Linked DNA regions of Homo sapiens: region 1 is linked to region 2. The links are contacts of gene promoters, found by promoter capture Hi-C in blood cells and fetal thymus (Javierre and others, 2016). All regions are on one chromosome and are shown on one strand. The core of a region is centred on a gene start or on the middle of the fragment in contact, and the rest is flanking DNA. Distances in the headings are between cores, read along the strand shown.

Region 1 (4,129 bases), core at 570-3,069, 280 kb before region 2:
CATTGGGGTCCCTCAGAGTTCTGAAGGCCCCAGCCAGCTGGATCCCCACTTCATGTAAAGAGCATCTGCTTCAGAGAAATGGCTAGGATTAGCAGTGGGGTCTAGCTGTGAGTATGGGGTGGAGCCCCACTTCTTTACTTCATGTGACTGGAGTTTCCTCTCCTCCTGATTTGTCAGTGGGTAGACATGGGTGTTGAGGTATGGACACCCAATCTGATGAGACCTGGGGCTGGGAGCTATTAGAAAGAACTGGACGAAAAGGGCGAACAGGCGATCTGAAGGGAAGGAGTACCCTTTTGTGACCTAGTACATGACCTAGTACCTATTATCTCAGATAATGCATCAGATATTCCTGTTACGCTAGCCACTCCTGATCATCCCGCAAAACCCTGCCCCGCTAGCTCTAAAATGTCTTCCCTATCCTCCTTGGGGCTAATGTAATCACTCCCTCCTCTGGGTGCCCACAGTTCCCTGTGTTATCTATCACATCATATTTGTGTCTGTCTTCCCAACCAGATGGGGATCTCCTTGAAGGCAGGCACTGCATTTGAGTGAGAAAGTATTTGGGTTTTTTTATTTGTTTTAGAGGCAGGGTCTCATTTCCGTCACCCAGGCCAGAGTGTAGTGGCATGATCATAGCTCACTGCAGCCTCAAACTCCTGGGATCAAGCAGTCTTCCTAACCTCAGACTCCTGAGTAGTTAGGACTACAGATGTGAGCCACTACACCCAGCTTAATTAAAAAAAAAATTGTGGAGATGGGGTCTCGCCATGTTGCCTAGGCTGGAGTGCAGTGGCATGATCATAGCTCACTGCAGCCTCAACCACCAGGGCACAAGTAATCCTCCTGCCTCAGCCTCCTGAGTAGCTAGGACAATAGGTATGCACAACCATGCCCAGCTAATTTTTGTGTATGTGTGTGGAGACGGGGTCTCACACTGTTGCCCAGGCTGGTCTTGAACTCCTGACCTCAAGTGATCCTCCCACCTCGACTCCCAAAGCACTGGGATTATAGGCGTGAGCCACTGTGCCTGGCCAGAAAGTGTTGGTTGAATAAATGATTAAGACTCCCTAGCCCAGTGCCCTGGGGAAAGGAAGGCATGGTATAAGTCAATCATAGTCCAAGCAAAATTATAATATTTGTATAGTATATGGAGTTAAACAGACTAGGCTGTTTGCTCTGCCCCTTATGGCTGACCCCAAGGGCTGATGGCATCAATACCCTATTAGCTAGGTTATTGCATACCTTGCATACCTATTACCTGTTCTGGGCATACCAGTTAGGGAATTAAGATATAGATAGTTGCTGGAGTACTTGGTCCCTCTGGAGCAGTACTAGGTCTGTGACCCTGAGGGTATGTTGTCCCCACTGCCTGAGCCTACGGTGTTGGTTCCACCTTGGAATTTTTATATTTGCTCTGAATTTCCCACTCAGAGTATCCCAGAAATGGCCAGCCCTAGGAATAAAAGAAGCAAGCTAGTCCATCATATCTGTAATTGATTACTTTGCCTCTGCTCGCATATCCCCAGTGATGGGGAGCTTCCTTCCTCCCCAGGTAGCCTGTTCTAAGGAAGCTTAATAACTAATAATTAGCCTTTTTCTTTTATTTTCTTTCTTTATTTTTATTTAGATGTAGTCTCACTCTGTCGCCTAGGCTGGAGTGCAGTGTTGTGATCTCAGCTCACTGCAACCTCCGCCTCTTGGGTTCAAGCAATTCTCCTGCCTCAGCCTCCTGAGTAGCTGGGATTACAGGTGCCCGCCACCACACCTGGCTAATTTTTGTATTTTTGGTATTGACGGGGTTTCGTCATGTTGGCCAGGCTCGTCTCGAACTCCTGACCTCAGGTGATCCACCTGCCTTGGCCTCCCAAAGTGCTAGGATTAAAGGCGTGAGCCACCATGCCCAGCCTCTTTTTTTTTTCTTTCTTCTTCTTTTTTTTCTTTTAACAGAGATAGTTTCTCACTATGTTGCCCAGGCTGGTCTTCAACTCCTGAGCTCAAGTGATCCTCCTGCCTCAGCCTTCCAGAGTGCTAGGATTACAGGCTTGAGCCACTGTGCCTAGCCCAAGCTTTTTCTTTCCTTCTTTCCTTCTTTCCTTCTTTTCTTTCTTTCTTTCTTTCTTTCTTTCTTTCTTTCTTTCTTTCTTTCTTTCTTTCTTTCTTTCTCTTTCTTTCTTTTTTTCTTTTTTTCCTTCTTTCTTTCCTTCTTTCTTTCTTTTCTTTCTTTTCTTCCTTTCCTTCCCTTTCCCTTTCCCTTGCCCTTTCCCTTTCCCTTTCCCTTTCCTTTCCTTTCTTTTCTTTTCTTTTTGAGGCAGGGTCTTGCTCTGTTGCCCAGGCTGGAGTGCAGTGGCACAATCTTGGCTCACTGCGACCTCTGCCTCCTGGGTTCAAGCCATTCTTATGCCTCAGCCTCCCGAGTAGCTGAGATTACAGGCATGCACCACCGTGCCTGGCTCATTTTTTGTATTTTTAGGAGAGATGGGGTTTCACTATGCTGGCCAGGCTGAAGCTTTTACTTATAGTGAGTATGTACTTACTTTCCGGTGAGTCTCTGCCTTGGCCCTGGCTCTGCTTTGCCGTAGAACTATTCTCTCCTCGTGGCTTCAGGTCAGCCCTGTAGAGACAAGAAGACAGTAATGAGGGGCCTTGAGTCTGTCTTCTTCTTTTTTTTTTTTTCTTGAGATGGAATCTCGCTTTGTCACCCAGGCTGGAGTGCAATGGCACGATCTCGGCTTACTGCAACCTCCGCCTCCCAGGTTCAAGCGATTCTCCTGTCTCAGCCTCCCGAGTAGCTGGGATTACAGGCACACCGCCACCATGACTGGCTAACTTTTTGTATTTTAGTAGTGACGGGGTTTCACTGTGTTACCCAGGCTGGTCTCGAACTCCTGACCTCAGGCAATCCAGTTCCTTCAGGCAACCTTCCAAGGAAATGGTTTCCAGGCTCTTCCCTATCCTGAATGTACCGTTGAACTTGGCCCAGTTTGTCACTGTTCTCTGCTGGGCCTTGATTTGGGTATAGAACTCCAGGTGGCCTGGGCAGTACAGGCAAAAGCAGGACTATTCATTCTTATTCCTGGCTGTTAGACCTCTGTTGAGGCAGCCTGAGCTGCTATTAGCTGTTTCTGCACAGGTACAGGCTGAACATCGATATCTCATATTCAGGCTTGTTGAGATCTCTTTTGTATCCTGCTTCTGTCATCATAGGATTTAGCCATTTCTCCAGTGAGGCCCAACAAGCCCTCTCAGTCCTGCTCTAACAAAAAACGGCCAGACCCCTTTTTGCTTTCTCTCTTTCCCTTATTGGAAACCTGCCTATGACCCTGGATACAACTCTCAGGAAGGTCCCTGCCCCCATCACTGGCAAAGAAGCTACTGCCAGCTGACCTCAGCCACTATCACTTCTTCCCTTTGCAGAGTGTTCTAGGATTTATGACATATGCTTGTTGATCCTGGGAAGGATGTGTGCCTGGGCAGGCGTGGAGAATTGGGTACTGTGGGCGGGAGGGCAGGCCCTGAGGAGCAGGGGGTGGGATCCTCCAGTCTTAGAATAGTCCCAGTCTGGCTACAACCTTCAACCCAAGACCCGGATTCTTCAGCACCGAGTGTGAGTGTTCCTTCATGAGGCCCCCACCCCATTCCTGGGTCTCCTTAGTGGAGGGAAGTATGAGTGCCGAGGGGAGATTGGGTCCTAGGCCTTTTAATATCAAGCCATCTCTGTCTGCCTCAGCTTGATCCAGAGGGAAGCCCAGCTTGAGGGGTCAAGGTGTTTGGGCAGTGGGGTTGTGAGGGGGAGTTGTCGGCCAGGAGGGAGAAGAGATTGGAAGAAGCTCAGTTCCCTGGGTCTGGGTCTGACCTGGACAGAGATCTCCTGGGTCTGGCCCAGGACAGCAGGCTCAAGCTCAGTGGAGAAGGTTTCCATGACCCTCAGATTCCCCCAAACCTTGGATTGGGTGACATTGCATCTCCTCAGAGAGGGAGGAGATGTAGGTCTGGGCTTCCACAGGGACCTGGTATTTTAGGATCAGGGTACCGCTGGCCTGAGGCTTGGATCATTCAGAGCCTGGGGGTGGAATGGCTGGCAGCCTGTGGCCCCATTGAAATAGGCTCTGGGGCACTCCCTCTGTTC
Region 2 (4,074 bases), core at 847-3,346:
TGGAGCCCTGGAGTTGTTGGGCAAGGATGCTGTCATTTTTTGAACCAAAAGACAAACAGGTTAAAAGGAAAAAAAGTAATCTGAATTTCCCAAGTGCCTACGCTGCATATTCCCCTTGTTAGATCCCATTTTCATGTTACTTTGTAGCCTTGGCCAGAGGCTCAAAAAGGACACAACCAGTTTGGGGAAGGGGTGGCTAAGGAAGATGGTATAGGTGAAGGCGGCTGTGTGACCACTTTCCCCCACCCTTCCCACCCTCTAGACAACTCTCTCCCTTACCTGTTTTTGCTATGGCTGTAAAGGTATTTTTCCTCTGCCCCACTCCCTGCCATACCTTTATCCTGGGATCCTATTTTGGGCCTGGGGTGGGTATACCTGGGGCTGGTCTTAGGAGGGTGCTAGGCTGCAGACTGCCTTGTACTCCCTGGACACCCTCAAATGGGGTTTTCTGTGTTATTTCATAAAATTCTTTGAAGTCCAATAAAGCATGTAGGAGATTTTAACCACTGCTGGCTTTGACTCTCATTGTGTTCTCTGTGCTGTGGCATGATGGGATAAAGAGACAATCTTTCCTTTGCCCAGGGAAAATGAAACTTGAATGCACATGCCCAGAAGCTCTGTGGGCAGGGTTACCAGATAAATGCAGGATGACCAGTTAAATGTGAATTTCAGATAAACAGTTTTTAAAGTATAATTTTCTCTCATGCAGTATCTGGGACACATTTTTATTTGCTAAATTGGGAAACCCTATGTCTGGGTAAACTTGACCCTATCTATCCTATAACTTCACTTACGACTTTTAAAAAACATATCTATTTAATTTTTCTTTCTTTTTTTTTGTTTTTTTTGAGACGGCGTCTCACTCTCTTGCCTAGGCTAGGGTGCAATGGCGCGATCTTGGCTCACTGCAACCTCTGCCTCCAGCGTTCAAGCGATTCTTCTGCCTCAGCCTCCTGAGTAGCTGGGATTACAGGCGCGTGCTACCATGCCTGGCTACTTTTTGTATTTTTAGCAGCGGGGGGGTTTCACCACGTTGGTTAGGCTGGTCTCGAACTCCTGACCTCGTGATCTGCCCGCCTTGGCCTCCCATAGTGCTGGGATTACAGGAGTGAAGCACCGCGCTGGCCTACTTTTTCTATTTTTTGTAGAAATGGGGTCTCACTATGTTGCCCAGGCTTATCTCAACACCTGGCCTCACATGATGCTCCCGCCTTAGCCTCCCAAAATGCTGCAATTACAGGCTCACTTACGACTTTCCATGATTTTTGAAATTACTTCACAGGGAGCCTGGGCAGCTTCTGGAGGGCAGTGAGAAACCAACGAAAAGGCTTTAGGGAAAAGATGCCACAGATGAAATTTCATAAAGATCGCTTTGGGTAGCCCAAATCAGAAGCTTCTACACCAGCCTTACATATTACGGTTCTCATCTATTCTTATTCTCCACTCTAAGTCACCAAGTCCATCCTACCTCCACAAGGCAAATACCCTGTCTCTGCCACCATCCACTGAAGAACCCTAAAAGCAAATGGGTACTGACCCTGCCCTGCTTAAAATTCTCTCAGGGCTCTGATTTGCGTCAGGATAAAATCCAAACGCCATCGGCCTTGCGCGGTTTTCTTCCAGTTCCAGAGTGTCAGTCCTCTGGCCGATCTAAAAGCCCTGGGGCTCCAAGCTGCCCACGGCTGTGGAGCCTGGGCTGGAGCCCACAGCGGACGGCAGTGTTAGTATTATTATAATAAATGTCAGAGCAAGAAAAACGTTCCCGCCGGTTAGGTTTTGTTATTTCAAAAATAAATTAACCGCCTTTCCTCCGGCGGAGACGCGCAGGTGAGAGGGCGGCGCCTGACCCAGCGGGCTCTAGGTGCTACGCCAGGGCCCCGAGGGTCCCGAACTCGGCTTGCCCACACAAAACATGGTAGCAGGAGAGCAGCATTTCCGCCGGGCATGTCCATATCCAATGGGGCCCATGGGAGAGGCGTAGTCTTCTGGGTCTTGCCCAGACTCAACATGGCGGCTACACGTCGCCTGTCAGTCTGTGAAGCCTACCCCGGGCGTGGGCCGCAGCGTCGAGTAACGTCATTCGAACCCCGTCGCGCCCCTTTGTGCGTCACGGGTGGCGGGCGCGGGAAGGGGATTTGGATTGTTGCGCCTCTGCTCTGAAGAAAGTGCTGTCTGGCTCCAACTCCAGTTCTTTCCCCTGAGCAGCGCCTGGAACCTAACCCTTCCCACTCTGTCACCTTCTCGATCCCGCCGGCGCTTTAGAGCCGCAGTCCAGTCTTGGATCCTTCAGAGCCTCAGCCACTAGCTGCGATGCATGTGATCAAGCGAGGTGAGGGGGGGACGAGGTGGGCGAGAAGGAAGGTGAGGGGATGCGGGCTGCCGCCGCCGGAGCTGATGCCCAGACCGCCCGCCCGCCTTCGCTGCTTCCCGCCTTTCCCGCATTTCCCGCCGCGGCCTTCCGCCCTGTCAGCCCGCTCGGCCTTCTGTCTTCAGTCAGCCTGCCCCGAACCTCCTTCGGGCCTTCAGGCTGCGCCCCCTCGGCTTTGTCATCCTGCCGCCTTTCAAAAGGATAACACTTACCCCGTATCGAGTAGTGACTGCGTACGCCGAGCACTTGCCAGGCACTATTTTATTCCTCCCTGCAAGCCTCTGAGAGATGATTAGCTTATTACAGATGAGGAAACTGACGCTCAGAGCGAGGTGTCGCCGACTGACCCAAAGTCACCCATAGGTGACAATACGGTTTGATTTGAAAACCGTGGGGTTGGTGAGCTGTCTTAGGCACAGGGTCGGGGGGCAGCTAGGAAAGAAGGAGGGGGCCTCTCTACCCTCCGTAGGCACTTGTCAGTTTACTGATCTCTTTTGTGGGGTGAGGATAGGAGTGTGGCGTGGAAAAAACAGATCCCAGACAGACAGCACCCTCGAGTTCCTTTCCCTTCATGGGAAGAGATGCTGAATCAGAGAAGGGTGGCTGAGACATCTTCTGACAAGATGGGGACTGGGAAGAGTCAGGAACTCGTATTCTTTCTCAACAGTTCTTTTTCATTAGACTTGCCAAGTGCCCGCTTTGTGCCCAGCCCTTTGCTTGGCTTTGTGAGATTGTAGGAGGAGACAGTCCCTGCCTTGGGAACAGGCTTCATCGGGTTGGAAAAACAAGAGCAACATACTTTTAACAACCGCATGAGATACGTATGAACAAGTTTTGAGTTGAACCTACTTGCCTTTGTTAAAGCAATACAATGATTTCAAAATTGTAGGCACTTAGTAAATACTGGTTAATCGACTGGTTGTTTCTATTTTGTCCTCTAGGCTGTGAACATTTCAAAGATGGAGACTTGTTTGAGACAGAGTCTTGCTCTGTCACCCAGGATGGAATGCAGTGGTGTAATCATAGCTTACTGTAACCTTGAAGTCCTGGGCTCAAGCGATGCTCTTGCCTCAGCCTCTCAAGTAGCTGGGACTATAGGCATGCACCACCATGAGTGGCTAATTTTTAAAAATTTCTGGTAGTAAAGGAGTCTTGCTGTGTTTCCCAGTCTGGCCTTGAATTCCTGGCCTCAAACCATCCTCCCTTCCTTGGCTTCCCAAAGTGCTGGGAATACAAGCAAGATGGAGACTTTTCTGTTCACGTTTAGCACAGGACCTGACATGAACAGATTCTTAAAGAATGAATGAAAATAGTTGTATCAAAATGTAGGACACGATGAATGCTGTGAATAAGCAGGTAGTTGATTTGGTTTAACTACAGCCAATGTCCAGATTGGTTTAACTACAGACAAGAGTTGGAAAGGTGGACAGTAGTGGCCTTTCTTGTTTTTGGTATCTTGAGAACATCATTCTGTGAATTTTCCTAGCTCACATTTTAGCTGACCAAAGAGCAAAATAACATAGTGCACTTTTATTGATCCATTCATAAGAGTGAGAGCTGAGCATCTATTTTTGTATTTTTATTTTTTTACATTATTATTTATTTGTATTTTTTTAGAGAAGGAGTCTCGCTATGTTGCCCAGGCTTGTCTTGAACTCCTGGGCTCAAGCATTCTTCCCACTTCAGCCTCCCAAAGTGCTTGGATT

The links. The method cuts DNA at HindIII sites, captures the fragments that hold promoters and counts their contacts. A CHiCAGO score of 5 or more calls a contact.
Region 1: a fragment that was not itself captured here is called in contact with the fragment with the promoter of RRM1 in region 2 in 11 of 17 cell types (total CD4 T cells, total CD8 T cells, non-activated CD4 T cells and 8 more); the score reaches 14.8 in total CD4 T cells.

What each region holds. Positions count from the first base shown.
Region 1 is chr11:3,812,648-3,816,776 of GRCh38, forward strand. All of the region lies in intron 2 of PGAP2 (post-GPI attachment to proteins 2), which reads left to right. LOC124902618 (a long non-coding RNA gene) reads right to left here. Exons shown (of 3, transcript XR_007062559.1): 2 at 2,538-2,614. Among named protein-coding and RNA genes, the nearest start is that of PGAP2, 6.2 kb to the left of the region's middle. The HindIII fragment of the contact is 495 bases long and covers 1,573-2,067 here.
Region 2 is chr11:4,092,703-4,096,776 of GRCh38, forward strand. It overlaps RRM1 (ribonucleotide reductase catalytic subunit M1), which reads left to right and starts at 2,097. Exons shown (of 19, transcript NM_001033.5): 1 at 2,097-2,329. The coding sequence starts at 2,311. STIM1 (stromal interaction molecule 1) reads left to right here. Exons shown (of 13, transcript NM_001382567.1): 13 at 1-506. RefSeq lists enhancers at 1,727-1,796, 1,857-2,326. The HindIII fragment of the contact is 7,950 bases long and covers 1,392-4,074 here.